3 separate regions of the Homo sapiens genome follow, and regions 2 and 3 are each linked to region 1. The links are contacts of gene promoters, found by promoter capture Hi-C in human tissues and cell types (Jung and others, 2019). All regions are on one chromosome and are shown on one strand. Each heading gives the region's core, a stretch centred on a gene start or on the middle of the fragment in contact. The rest is flanking DNA. Distances are from core to core; before and after follow the strand shown.

Evidence for each region. Contacts are between HindIII fragments. The study calls those that stand out against the background at their distance.
Region 2: a fragment that was not itself captured here is called in contact with the fragment with the promoter of EBF4 in region 1 in 1 of the 25 tissues and cell types used here (lymphoblastoid cells).
Region 3: a fragment that was not itself captured here is called in contact with the fragment with the promoter of EBF4 in region 1 in 2 of the 25 tissues and cell types used here (H1 embryonic stem cells and thymus).

The regions. Positions count from the first base shown.
Region 1 is chr20:2,690,395-2,695,076 of GRCh38, forward strand. EBF4 (EBF family member 4) reads left to right here and starts at 2,386. Exons shown (of 17, transcript NM_001395167.1): 1 at 2,386-3,388. The coding sequence starts at 3,252. LOC105372507 (a long non-coding RNA gene) reads right to left here and starts at 2,226. Exons shown (of 3, transcript XR_937210.3): 1 at 1,672-2,226; 2 at 946-1,070. RefSeq lists an enhancer at 3,557-4,541. The HindIII fragment of the contact is 20,356 bases long and covers 1-4,682 here.
Region 2 is chr20:2,527,758-2,531,997 of GRCh38, forward strand. No RefSeq gene overlaps it. Among named protein-coding and RNA genes, the nearest start is that of TMC2, 6.7 kb to the right of the region's middle. The HindIII fragment of the contact is 5,133 bases long and covers 1-4,240 here.
Region 3 is chr20:2,481,919-2,486,126 of GRCh38, forward strand. It overlaps ZNF343 (zinc finger protein 343), which reads right to left. Exons shown (of 6, transcript NM_024325.6): 6 at 1-2,738. The coding sequence ends at 1,243. Among named protein-coding and RNA genes, the nearest start is that of SNRPB, 13 kb to the left of the region's middle. The HindIII fragment of the contact is 4,668 bases long and covers 1-4,208 here.

The DNA.
Region 1 (4,682 bases), core at 1,136-3,635:
CCTCTCTGAGGGCCAAGCCCAGCCCTGTCCTCACCCACTGATGTTCAGGACTGACAGAAGTGAGAGTCCCATATGGGGAGACCATTTCCTCAAAGATGTTCTCTGAGACTGTGGAGGAACGTGAATTCTGTGAGGGGAGAACAGAAGAAGAGCGCCAGGCACAGCAGCTTGAGGTGCTCAGAGGGCAGAGGAGAAAGACAGTGTGCTCTGGTCATCAGGGCAGTTTCCCAGGTGTGTGTAAATATATATACACCAGATATATATATTTCCCAGGTGTGTGTAAATACATACACATGCATATATATATGTGTATATATATATATATATATATATCTGGTCACCAGGGTGGTTTCCCGTGTGTGTGGGGTTGGGGGGTGGGGTAGCCCACTGCTGCCAGGAGGTCCCAGGCCCTGAAGCCCAAGAGAGACCACGGAGTCTGAGAGCAGAAGCAGGAAGGCAGGGCTGGAAGGGAGCCAGCACACAAGGGCCCCAGGAGTGGCTTGCTGGGGGCCAGTCAGGCATCCTTGGCAGAGCGTTCCTGTGAACGGTCTCAGACACAGGAGGGGCAGAAATTGAAGAAGGAGGCGAGGAGGAGGGGACAGTTCTTTTAAGAATGGGGAGATCTGAGCAGAGAAAAGAACATATTGAGACACAAACAGGAGATCGGTGGGGTAATCTCAGGAAAGGCAGAAGACAGGACTAAGCAAAAAGGTTCCACATCCATCTCCACAGTGGAAGACCGAGAGAAGAGAACGGGTGAAAAGACAGAAACGAGGAGGAGCATACGCCGCTGATGGTGCCAGCAGGGTTCTGCCAAGATTCCCTGAGTCCTCTCCACTGGGTAAGAGGAAGGGTGTCTGCTGGAAATGAGAGAGCCAGAGGTGGGTCTGAATGTTGGGGAGAGGAGTGGAGCAAGTGTGGAACAGCTCTGGGGGGGCTTCTCACATGTAATGTGTGTACAGGTCTTGGTAAATTGCAGGTTCCGATTCAGCAGGTCCCGGCAGGGCCTAAGAGTCTGGATTCCTCACCAGCTCCCAGGTGATGTCAATGCTGCTGGTCCGGGGACCACACTGTGAGAAGCAAGATTTAGAGAGGCAGATCAGGAGATGGAGAAAGAGACTGGCTTAAGAATTGTCTTAAGGAGAAACCCATGTTTGATAATCCCACCTAGGGTAAAAGCTGAGACCTGAAGGAGTCCTGGTGGGAATGGCAGCCCCCTGTGGGTGATGGGGAGAGGCATAGAGAGAAGGGGTGGTAAAGAGACCAGGAAAGGAGGTGAGAGGGCCTCTGTGATGGCAGGAGAACCAGCAGTGCCCCCAGGACGCCTCATCTGGGCCAATGTGTGACAGAACGCTAACTCACACTTGGAGGCCCCCCAGAAGAGGATGGGAGTGAGTTGGAGCAGGAAGGTGTTATTGCAGGGGTGTCTGAGCGTGAACATGGCAGGCAGGGCAGGTGGCCCCCATGCTGTTCTGCAGGAAAGTGCTGGACTCAGTCTGGGCTTGCTCGAAGCCTGGCCAGGACAACGTGGGGAGAGGGGCAGAAATGTCTCTGCCCCACGGTCAAGGGCCAGACGACTTCTGTGCCAGGAACTAATAAAAAAAAAGGAATGGGATCTGAGACGGGACGCGGCTGGGGAGAAACAGGAGGTGAGCTGGGCTCTGAGCCTACCTGTCCAACTCGCAATCAGAAATCAGGAGGTTCCTGAAAGGCACAGATGGAAACTGAAAATGCTTTAGGCTTAGGTAACCCAGCATCAGGAATCGGGATGGTTGGATGCAGGGACCTCGCCCAGCTTGTCTGGGGCCGCAGCCTACGGCAGGGACGTTTCAGTCCTTAGCTGGGGTGAAAGTGAGGTCAGGGTCGCCGGGGAAATGCGGGAGTACAGTCACGCGGGAGAAAGACGTCAAGAGCGAAAGCTCGGAGGCGTCAAAATGAGCAGCAAGTCCAGGCACAAGGCGTCGGGCGCGGAGAGTACGGCGGGTGCCGGGGGAGGGAGATGAGGCCGCGAAGACGCCGGGGCTTCGTCCGGCGGCGACGGGGAGGCCGCGGAGGTTCCCGAGCGCAGCGGGGCGCGCACCTCCCGCTCGGGCCGGGCTCCCTCGCCGCGCGGCCCCGGATCCTCCCTGCGCGGGTTTCCGTGGCCCCCGCCGGGCTCTTCCGTTCCCTCCCGCGGCCTCGACCAGGCCGCAGCCCCCAGCCCAGGCGACCGACTCGCCAGGGTCCGCCCCGCCGCCGCGGCCCGGGCCCGGCCGCTCCTCCCCCGATGATGTCACGTCCCCGGCCGCCCCTCGGCCGGCCGCGCCGCCCCGCCCCCGCCTCCCCCGGGCCCCCGTCCCCTGGGCCCGCCCGCTCCCGACATCCCTCCTCCCGCCTGCGCTCCCTCCCTTCGGCTACCGCTCCCCCGGGAGCGGCGGCGGCGGCGGCGGCGGCGGCGGGATGGCCCGGGCCCGAGGCCAGGCCCCGGGGAGCGGCGGGCGGCGGCGGCCGCGGCGGGGCGGCGCGGGAACCGGGCCCCGGGGGGAGTCGGCCGGGCTGCTGCTGCTGCTGCTCCAGGTGCTGCCGCCCGGGGCTACGGCAGGGCCGGGACGCCGGGGCACGCGGGGCGCTGGCGCTGGCGGCGGCGGCGTCTGCTGGCCCGGCGCGGCCCCAGCCTTTCCCCGGGACGCGCGGCTGCTGCTGCTCCTGCCGCCGCTGCCGCCACTGTCGCCGCCGCCGCCGAGCTCCGCGCCCGCAGCCTCCGCCTCCCGGATGGTAATCAGCGCCCCGCGCTGGCGCCGCGGGCGGGCGGGCGGGCGGGAGGTGGGGGCGGCGAGGGGGAAAGGGCGGGCGGCCCCGCGCCCCCGCCTTGCCCGAGGCAGCTCCCGGGGCGCTCGGGCCCCCCCTCCGACGACCGCGGCCCCGGGCAGCCGCCAGAGCGCGCCTCTGGGGCGCCTCCGCGCGGACCGGGTGCGGGCTCCGCTCCCCGCCCTCCCCGCCCCGCTCGCAGTCCGCCCGCCAGCGCTCAGGCCGCGGGGGAATCCCTCCATCTCCCCGCCCAGCGCCCCAGGAGGGGAGGGGACAGCGCCGGCGCCCGCGGACCCGCTTTCTCCGAGGGAGCGCCCAAGAGGCGAGCGCGCACTGAGCCACCCGGACTCGGCGCTGCGCTGCTGGAGGCGCCTGGTGCCGTCGGGTCGGGCTGAGCTAGACGCCCGCAGCCTCAGCGGGACCGGATCCGGGGCGGCGGGGGCGCTCACTCACCGCGCGCCCTCATGTTCCCTGCGCAGGACGCTCTGCCCCGCAGCGGGCTGAACCTGAAGGAGGAGCCGCTGCTGCCCGCCGGCCTGGGCTCAGTGCGCTCCTGGATGCAGGGCGCGGGCATCCTGGACGCCAGCACCGCGGCGCAGAGGTAAGCGCTCGGACCGGACCCGGTGCGCTCGGGTTGGACGGCTGCGCGCCGCCTCAGCTCAGCTTGCTGGAGCTGCTGGAGCCAGGGGCGGAAGGAGCCCTAACTCTGGACGGTCCCGGCGAGCTCCCCGGCCCACCCCGTCCGGAGTGCCTGTGCTGCCTCCTGAGGCTGTGGGGCGGGCTGGGGCGGGGCTTCTGCCTCCACTCCGGGCTGCCCCGGTAGATTTCTGACGGCCGCTCGCGGGTGCGGCGGTGAACGCCACCCCAGCCGGGCTGTCTATGGCTCTGAGAGAAGAGGCAGAGCTCCCAGCCATGACCCACAGCCACCGGCCGTCTAGGAACGTCCAGCCCCTCCTTCCTGGGCAGTCCCAGTGACTCTCCTTGTCCAATTCCGCAGCTCTCTGTCAGGAAAGGCACGAAACCCAGCCCCCTTTTTCCTTTCCCACGCCCCTCAGAGTTGGCGGATGGGGGTGTGCAGAGCCAGAGAAGCGGCTGGGGGCTGGACGGTGGCGAAGAGATGAGGTGGGCAGTCGGCCTGGCTGGACTGATTGGCCTGGGAACTGGGCAGGGCCCCTGCCTTTCCCTCGGGTGTTTTTCTGGTAGGTCCTTTGGAAGGCAGAGAGTCCCTGGGAACCCAGCACCCGCGCCGGTCTCCTCTGACTCCTTTGCAGGGGTCTGGGAGTCTCAGTAGGGGGTTGACTCCAGGATTTGAAAGCGAACTTTAAAAGTTTATTGACCTGCCCCCAAAGCCCCTGCACCCCCTGGCTTTTTGCACCTTCAGCTGTGACCATGGAGGGAGGCATTTAGGTATCCTATGGGGAGTCACAGTGGTTAGGATTAGGGAGGTGCCAGCTCTGCTGACAGCTGGGACAGGGTGGGCACTTGGCTTCCCAGAAGTCTGAGCTGTTGCAGCAGCCCGAAGGGATTCTGAATGGGGGGCTTAATGCAGACCGGGCCTGACACAGGAGCCCACATTCACACTCCGCAGGACGCCTCAACCTCACCGTGTAACAGACACACACCGCGCTTCATGTGCAAACTGAAGCCGTTTCTGCACGCCGGTCCTTTCCTGGCTGTCGGGAGGGAACGCTGGGGGGCTCTGGAGCTGATCTCTTACGGAAGAGAAAGGGTCTTGTGGATGAATTAATTTCCAAAACTTTTACAAGGGATATAGCTATATTCTAGAAAAATTGGAAAATAAAAAATTTAGTCCCTCCTCTGTAATACAACTACTGTCAACATTTTAGTGTATTTCCTTCCTATTTTTCTTCCCATTAACTTGTGTTTTCCTGTGC
Region 2 (4,240 bases), core at 425-2,924, 160 kb before region 1:
AACGTCCAAGGAGAGGGGTTCAGGAGGTATTTCCTATGGCAAAAGTGGCTGAGAAACTTAAAGCAATTAAGTTGTCTCTGCTGGGGACTTTGCTCTCCTGGGCTCTGCTACCACAACACCAGGTTATCTCCAAAGGGTTGGTGATGAGCGATCGCACATCATAGCCTGGCTTAGTGCTGCTCTGTGGAATAGAAAGGAAGCCCTAGAGCCCAGTACAATAGAGAGAATACAGAAGAGGCTGGAGATGGGGCAGCTGACAAGGCGAGGGCCACATCTCTACCACCATGTGGCCATACCTTCGTGAGGCAGTGAAGTAAGGAACTTTGCAGCAGGTGCATTATGGAGCAGAAGAAAGGGGCAGGCTCATTCGTGCCTGGCAAAAGTGGGGCCCAGACGCACTGCAGGCCTAGGCACTGAGGCTGGGAGTAAAGTGATATGAGCAGGAATCCCACAGAGCGCTCTCCTAACTCTTCAGGGCTTTGGGGTGTTCTGGTTATGGTCATATTATCTCACTCAGTCCCCAAAGGGCTCTTGCAGGAGTTGTAGCAGAATTACCTCCACCCAGCAGATGAAAAAACGGAGGCAGAGAAAGCTTCAATAACTTGCTTATGGTAGTGTGGGGTGAAGAGGGGCTTGTCACCCATCTGATTTCAGCTGACACCTAAAAATGGGGTGTCCGATTTCAGCCGACATCTGAAAATGGGGGTTGACTTTGTTTAACACTTTTGCTTTGAGGAGCATTCCAGTTGTCCTTATCCCGTATGGGCAGAAGGAACAGAGCCCCTGAATCTAGGCTCCCTACTTTCTTTCCCTGACTCTGCCTCCTGGGGTGGTGGGGGAGAAGCAGACGAATAAAAAAACTATGACCCATAGTCACCAGCTGGCTGCAGTTCTCCTTGTGGGTTGTGTAGACCGTGCCTCTTAGTCTGTCTGGCTTATATCTGGCAGTAATCCTCCCCTGCCTTTGGAGTAATGGGGGGCCCTCAGGTCCCAGATACCTGGATGGGTCCAACTTCCTGCCTAAGAGTCTGAGATGGCAGAGACAACCTCAGCAGTTTCTCGAAAACAGGACCCTTCTGCCCCACCTTCAGTGCTGATCAAGAAAGGTCAAGGAACCAAGACTCTGACCAAACAAACTTAGAAGCACTGTTCATATTACACAACCCAAAGCTTTCAGGGACACACCGCTACCGTCCAGAATCCTATGGCCTCTCTCCCACCCTGTGCCACAAACTACCCCAGCACTGAGCTCATTGGTGTGGGTTCGTCGGTGGAGGGCAGCATCCTTGAGATAGCGCCAGCTCACGTTATCCAGCTAGGGTGTTAGCTGGCGTAACTGGATCCTCTCCATTGTGCCGGTTTACAACATTCTGTGAGCAACACTGGATGTTTTGTAAGCAGATACCCACAGCTAATTATATATATATATGTATATACTTCTAATTGGAGAGATAAATTAACAAGATGGCCCAAGAAGCTTCCCCAAATAAGGGCTTTGGGGACAAAAGCACCCCTGGATTTGAACGCCCTGTGACTTTTGGTGGAGACTGCACATGTTATTTTTGTTGTTGTCGTATTGGGTCCTGGGGTTTCATTTTCTCTGAGCAAGCCACATCCATGAAAGAGAATTAGCACAGAGTTCACCCTCCTCAGCTCCAGCAATAGGGACATTCACTATCCTGATAACATTAGGGCACAACACTCTGATATTATTAATTTTCAGAATAATGTTTGAGTTGCATGTCCAATAAATGTTACTCAAATAGTATTAGCTAAAGTATTGTGTTAAGAAGAATAAAGAAAAAGAAAAGGAATATTTCACAAAAAGTTAAAAACACATTTTTGTGTCACTTTTTTTTTTTCTTAAAAGTTGCAAATGTGTGAAATCAAGAGGTTTCCAGTTACGGACATGTCAAGACCACCATGAAGAAAAGGCAAATCTTGATGAGGCAAAAACCAAGGGCAGAGCAGAGAGGGAGTCTTCCCAGAGGCTGGAGTGCTCTGCTCAGACACCACACCCCACCTGGCAGTTTGCTAGGGTTATCGCTCTGCTAGGAAACATCATTCCAAGTCATATTGTAAAATGCTGGGTGGGCAGTGTGCCCAGGGGTCTGCCACATGTCCTGAAGTCAGCAGTCTTCATAGTTGTGCCTCAGGCAGGGGGGATAGTGGGAGCAAAGACAAAGAGAAGTTCTAGTACCTCGAATGAGAGCAAGTCACATCAGTGGGTAGGAATAGCTGCACTGAAAGAGAGAGGCAGAGGGGGCTGGAGGGTGTTGGAGCTCTCCGGGGCCTTGGATGGCACATTAGAGAGTCTGGGTTTTACCCCTAGGCCATGGAGTCCCAGCGAAGGGTTTTAAGTAGAGGGGAGATGAAGTCAGACCTCTGCTCTGGGGGCTGCCTTAGCTGCCATGCAAGAGAGAAACTGAAGGGCAGGGCCAGCAGCCCGGTGCCCAGGTAGGAGGCAAACACGGGGACCTTTGGAAAGGAGGATATGGTGTGGTCCAGGTTTTTCCCAAGAGGTCAGAAGAGTGTAGGGAATAAAAGCCTGGGCTCTGGAGTAAGAACAGTCAACAGGGCTGAATCCTGTCTCCAGGGACTGCTGGGACACATCACATCTAAGCCTCCATTTTTTCATCTGTAAAGAAAGATAAGACAATCTGCCTCAAATGGCTGTTGTGATGATTCAATAAGTCATTTAAAGGGGTTGGCAAGTTCCTGGCAGAAAGGCAGTGACAGGTAACTCTCAGCTGTGGCTGTCTTGAAGGGTGGGCTTCCTGAGTGTGCAGCCTGCGCGTGGCTGCTCATGGCTCCACACTCAGAAGCGCCCTGCACTTGGTCTAATACTGTGCTGAAAAAGTGAAAGTGAAATTCTTTTTTTTTTTTTGAGACGGAGTTTCGCTCTGTCGCCCAGGCTGGAGTGCAATGGCGTGATCTTGGCTTACTGCAACCTCCATCTCCCGGGTTCAAGGGATTCTCCTGCCTCAGCCTCCCGAGTAGCTAGGATTACAGGCACATCCACCCGGCTAATTTTTGTATTTTTAGTAGAGATGGGGTTTCACCATCTTGGCCAGGCTGGTCTCGAACTCTTGACCTTTAGTGATCCACCTGCCTCGGCCTCCCAAAGTGCTGGGATGAGAGGCGTGAGCCACCGCGTCCAGCCTATAGTGAAATTCTTAAGAATTTTATCTTTTGGGCTGGACATGGTGGTTCACGCCTGTCATCCCAACACTTTGGGAGGCTGAGGCAGGAGTACTGCATAAGCTAAAGAGTTCACGATCAGCCTGGGCAACACGGTGAGACCCATCTCTAAAAAAAAAAAGTTAATTGGGCCAGGTGTGGTGGCTCACGCCTGTAATCACATCACTTTGGGAAGCCGACGTGGGCAGATCATTAGAGGCCAGGAGTTCGAGACTAGCCTGGCCAACATGGTGAAACCCCATCTCTACTAAAAATACAAAAATTAGCCAGGCATGGTGGCACACGCCTGTAATCCCAGCTACCTGGGAGGCTGAGGCAAGAGAATTGCTTGAACCCGGGAGGCAGAAGTTGCAGTGAGCCGAGATCATGCCACTGAATTCCAGCCTGGGTGACAGAGTGAGACTCTATCTCAAAAATAAAAAATAATTTTAAAAAATTAAAAATTAAGGCTGGGCTTAGTGGCTCACACCTGTAATCCTATCACTTTGGGAGGCCAAGGTGGATGGATCACTTGAGGTCAGGAGTTTGAGACCAGCCTGATCAACATGGTGAAACCCCATCTCTATTAAAAATACAAAATTAGCCAGGCATGGTGGCACACTCCTGTAATCCTAGCTACTTAGGAGGCTGAGGCAAGAGAATCACTTGAACCTGGGAGGCAGAGGTTGCAGTGAGCCAGGATCACGCCACTGCACTCCAGTCTGGGTGACAGAGCAAAACTCTGTTTCAAAAACAACAACAAAAAAAAAAAATTAGCTGGGCATAGTGGTGCTTTTTTCCGGCCCCAGCTACTTGGGAGGCTGAAGCAGGAGGATGATTTGAGTCCAGGATGTTGAGGCTGCTGTGAACCATGTTCATGCCATTGCATTATAGCCTGAGCCTGTGAAGAAGAAGAAGGAAGAAGGAAGAAGGAGAAGGAGGAGGAGGAGAGAAGGAGAAGGAGGAGGGGGGGAAGTCTGATGGGACAATGGGGTGCGTACATGAGCAGAGGAGATAGGAACATATGCCGCCCTATTTGCGTATCCCATATATGATGCCC
Region 3 (4,208 bases), core at 983-3,482, 210 kb before region 1:
AGAGTACATGGGGGAGTCAAGACATTTCCTGAAAATCCCTCAGAGGTGAGTGAGGTAGTGACTTGGGGTAGCAAGACTGTCCTCCTAAGTCAGTTGAGGAGTGACATCGGGATGAAGCTCCACCCACAAGCCCTGCCCACAGAGGTCTTCTCCCTGAGTGTGTCCTCCTTTAGTACAAGATGAGGTTTAACTTATTGCTAATGTGTTTCACATTTTCCCTCCCCACCCATGTAAAGCTTGTCCCAAAAAAGCTGTTCTTTGATGAGGACTTTTTCCTAAGTCCTTGTCCATTCTCCCCACACATGCAGAATTTCTATTCAATATACTCTGGGGCTTACTGCGGGGTGACTCATGGCTGAAGCCTTATCTACACTCCTTATATACCTAACATGTCTTAGAATCAATTATCTGGACAGACAACGAGACAGAAAATTGAGGATTCACTGGGGAGTGAGGGCAGGACTGGGCAGAGGAAGAAGCTGACCTGCAATGTGTCTGCAACCCAGTGATCCTTCAGTTCGATGGGGATCTCTGGATCTGGAATGACCTTCTGGAGTTGTCCCCGTTGAGTCAAGGGTTGGGGCCAGAAGGTACCCCTGCAAAGGTGCATTGCCCCTGTGGTGCATGCAGCTCCCTGTGGCTGAGAGTGAGTTCCAGAGCGGAGTGCATCTCTGGAATGCATCTCTGCCAGCAGCAACACTGTTCTCTCAAGCAGCTGGGGTGTTACCCCTGAAAAGGTCATCTGGGCAGAGCTCCACAGTGTCCCCACATGCAGATTCTCCCTGTGGTGTGTGATCACAAAAGCTTTGCCCATACATCCTACAAACAAAGACCTCCTTCCTGAGGGCCACTCTGTGCCTGAGTGTCCATTCTTTTACTGATGCTCCCCAACACTCCCCAGACAAGGGTGCTTTCCCCTGAGGCTGTCATTGGATGTCTGGTAAATGTTGATTATTGCTAAAGCCTTCCCACAGTCCCTACACATAAACTTCTCTCCTAAGTGTGTCCTTTTGTGCATGCTCAAGGCTGACTGATGGCTACAGTTGCCCGTACTCTATACTCATAAGGCTCCTCTCCTGAACGTGTCCCTCCCATGCCTGATAAGGGCTGACACATCTCTGGAACTTCACTCACAATCTGTGTACACAGGGTCTACTCCCCATGTGTCTCTCTGGGGTAACATGAGGCTTGACTGGTCACTCAGGTCTTGTTCATGACCCCTGCATACACAGGTTTCTCCCGTCAGTGTGTCCTCTGGTGTCTGATGAGATTTGACTTATGACTAAAGCCTCGCCCACACTCCCTACAAACATAATGCTTCTCCCCTGAGTGTGTCCTCTGGTGGACAAGGAGGAGTGATTTCCGGCTAAAGCCTCGGCCACACTCACTGCACACGTAAGGCTTCTCTCCTGAGTGTGTCCTCTCATGTACAATGAGGGTTGACTTGTCACAAAAGCCTCGCCCACATTCCCTGCAAATATAAGGCTTCTCATTTGAGTGCGTCCTCTGGTGTCTGATGAGATTTGACTTCTGGCTAAAACCTCGCCTACACTCCCTGCAGACATAATGCTTCTCCCCTGAGTGTGTCCTCTGGTGGACAAGGAGGAGTGATTTCCGACTAAAGCCTCGGCCACACTCACCACACACATAAGGCTTCTCTCCAGAGTGCGTCCGCTCGTGTATGATGAGGGTTGACTTGTCACAAAAGCCTCGCCCACACTCCCTGCAAACATAAGGCTTCTCATCCAAGTGTGTCCTCTGGTGTTTGATGAGATCTGAGTTCTGGCTAAAGCCTCGCCCACACTCCCTGCAAACATAAGGCTTCTCCCCTGAGTGTATCCTCTGGTGTTTTCTGAGGGTTGACTTATCACAAAAGCTTCGTCCACACTCCAGGCACACATAGGGTTTCTCACCGGAGTGTGTCCTCTGGTGTCTGATGAAGGATGACTTCTCGCTAAAGCCTCGCCCACACTCGCTGCAAACATAGGGCTTCTCCTCTGAGTGAGTCCACTGATGTCTATTGAGGATGGACTTACTTCTAAAGCTTTGCCCACACTCCCTGCACAAATAAGGCTTCTCTTCTGAATGTGTTCTCTGGTGTCTGCTGAGGTTGGACTTCTGGCTAAAACCTCGCCCGCACTCACTGCACACATAAGGCTTCTCCATCGAGTGTATACGATGGTGTCTGATGAGGGTTGATCTATCTTTAAAGCTTCGCCCACAATCACTGCAAATGTAGGGCTTCTTCCCTAAGAGGGTCCTCGGGTTTGTAATAAAGTTTGATTCCAGGTTATGGTCCGGTTCATACTCTCTACAGTTGATTGCTCCAAATCTCAAGGTTTCTAATTCCTTCAAGCCTTTGTCTAGCTGCACAGGGTTTGGTCTTTGGGCTGAGCTGGGCTCTGTTTCTACCACCATGTTGCCTTTTCTAGGACTTGCTGACTGTCTTTGGAGTGGGCTGGGGAATGCCCTTGAGGTTTCTCTCTCCTCTGTCCTTGCAGACCAGGGTTTGGAGCCACCTCCTCTCTCCTGACCTTCTGCATTTTCAAACCAACAGCTTACATGGGAATACTGCTGCCCCTGCTGTTTCCAATGCCCTGGGCTAGAATTCCCTGGATGGAAGTGATTTTCTGCACATAAGCCCAGGAAGATCTGAAGTACATGTTGACTGAGGAACTGCTGACAGGAGAAGGCCAGAAGGCAGGAGGAACAAGTGTAGATTTCTGGCTTTGGTTCTGCTGAAGAATGAAAGTTTTCTGTTAGAGTAGCCATAAGTAGGGCTGCTGAGTTGTTCTGCCTTGTCTTAGGACAGAGAATGTTTTACTGCCATGCCTATAATTGATAATATAAGTATAACACAATTTGCTTCTGAACAATGATTCCTTTACATTCCATCACATTTTCTATTGCAATCCAGAAAATCCATAACAAAAATATCTTGAGAAACCAGGAACCTCTCAAGTGAGTATTCTGCTCTGTAAACAGCTTCAATCATAGTTAGCCTTCTCCTAAGCCATAGACATTCACATTGGTATATACTGTCCACAGCTCTTTGTTCTGCTTGGAGATAGTGGTCTCTATGACACATGTGGAAATCTCCTTCATGACTTTTCTTATTATATAAAAAAGGGTCTGATAGACATAAAAAGTCCCTCATTCTGGAGGGCTTCCGAATGTAGGAGAAAGTGTATGGAATACTGGTTAAAGAAATTATTGTATATAAAACAAATATAAATTTCAGGCTGCCCACCTGTAAACAAAGACTTATTAGAAAATGCCAAAGTACTAGGTTCTCTACTAAGTATTATGAATTCAGTAATGAACAAGAAAGACATGGTCCATGATTTTAGGATTCTGGCACCAAGCCAAAACAACAAAATCTGCCTTTCTTTCCACTTTTCATAAATCAGTAAAAAGAAAAACTTTTCATTTACAGCAGCACCTGCCTACAAAATATCAAAACTAGATGTTGCATTTCATCACAACATGATCTATCCAACTGATGCTGAGAAATGACCACGTACTTGGCCCCAGACCCTACTGGGCCTAACTGAAGACTTCTGCCTAACTAATGAACACTGGAATCTTTATAATCAACTGTATCTGTCCTTAAAAACTCATCCTATCCTATCTGGAATGCTAGTTTTCAAACCTTAATTAGCATAACCATCATGAAACTGCTCCCTAACAGTAAAACCTTTTATTTTTCCCCCTTGCCAAACTATACAGTGAATTTCTTCACTGCTGTGTCTCCTTTCCTGTTAAGTAAATGATTTGTGCCATTTGATTTTTTGACCTTTTGTGGTCTTTGTTTTAGTTTTTGACAATGTGTTTTCCCTTTGGTTGCTCTGACAAGGCACCGACCAGTGCTGGAACTGCTGGACTGCCAGAGGAACACAGCTGTGTGTAGACTGAGCCGTATGTGCTCAAAGCTGCTTGTCTGGCAGCCTTGCCATGGGTGAGGCTCTCAGCAGCTGTCAGGCTCTGCTTGCTGTCACTGAGCACTCCCTGAGTCTGTTTGGTTTACTTGGGTTCTCAAAGTAACTCATTATTTGTTTCTATTTCTGACCCGTCATCTCTTATAAGACTTGTGGTCATTCTGGTACTTTGTGACGTGAACTTTTTGCCTTGATATTTTGACTGTGATTCGCTGCCATCTTTTTGGATTATCTAGAAGCATACCAAGTCATTCAGACTGCAGTCTGAAT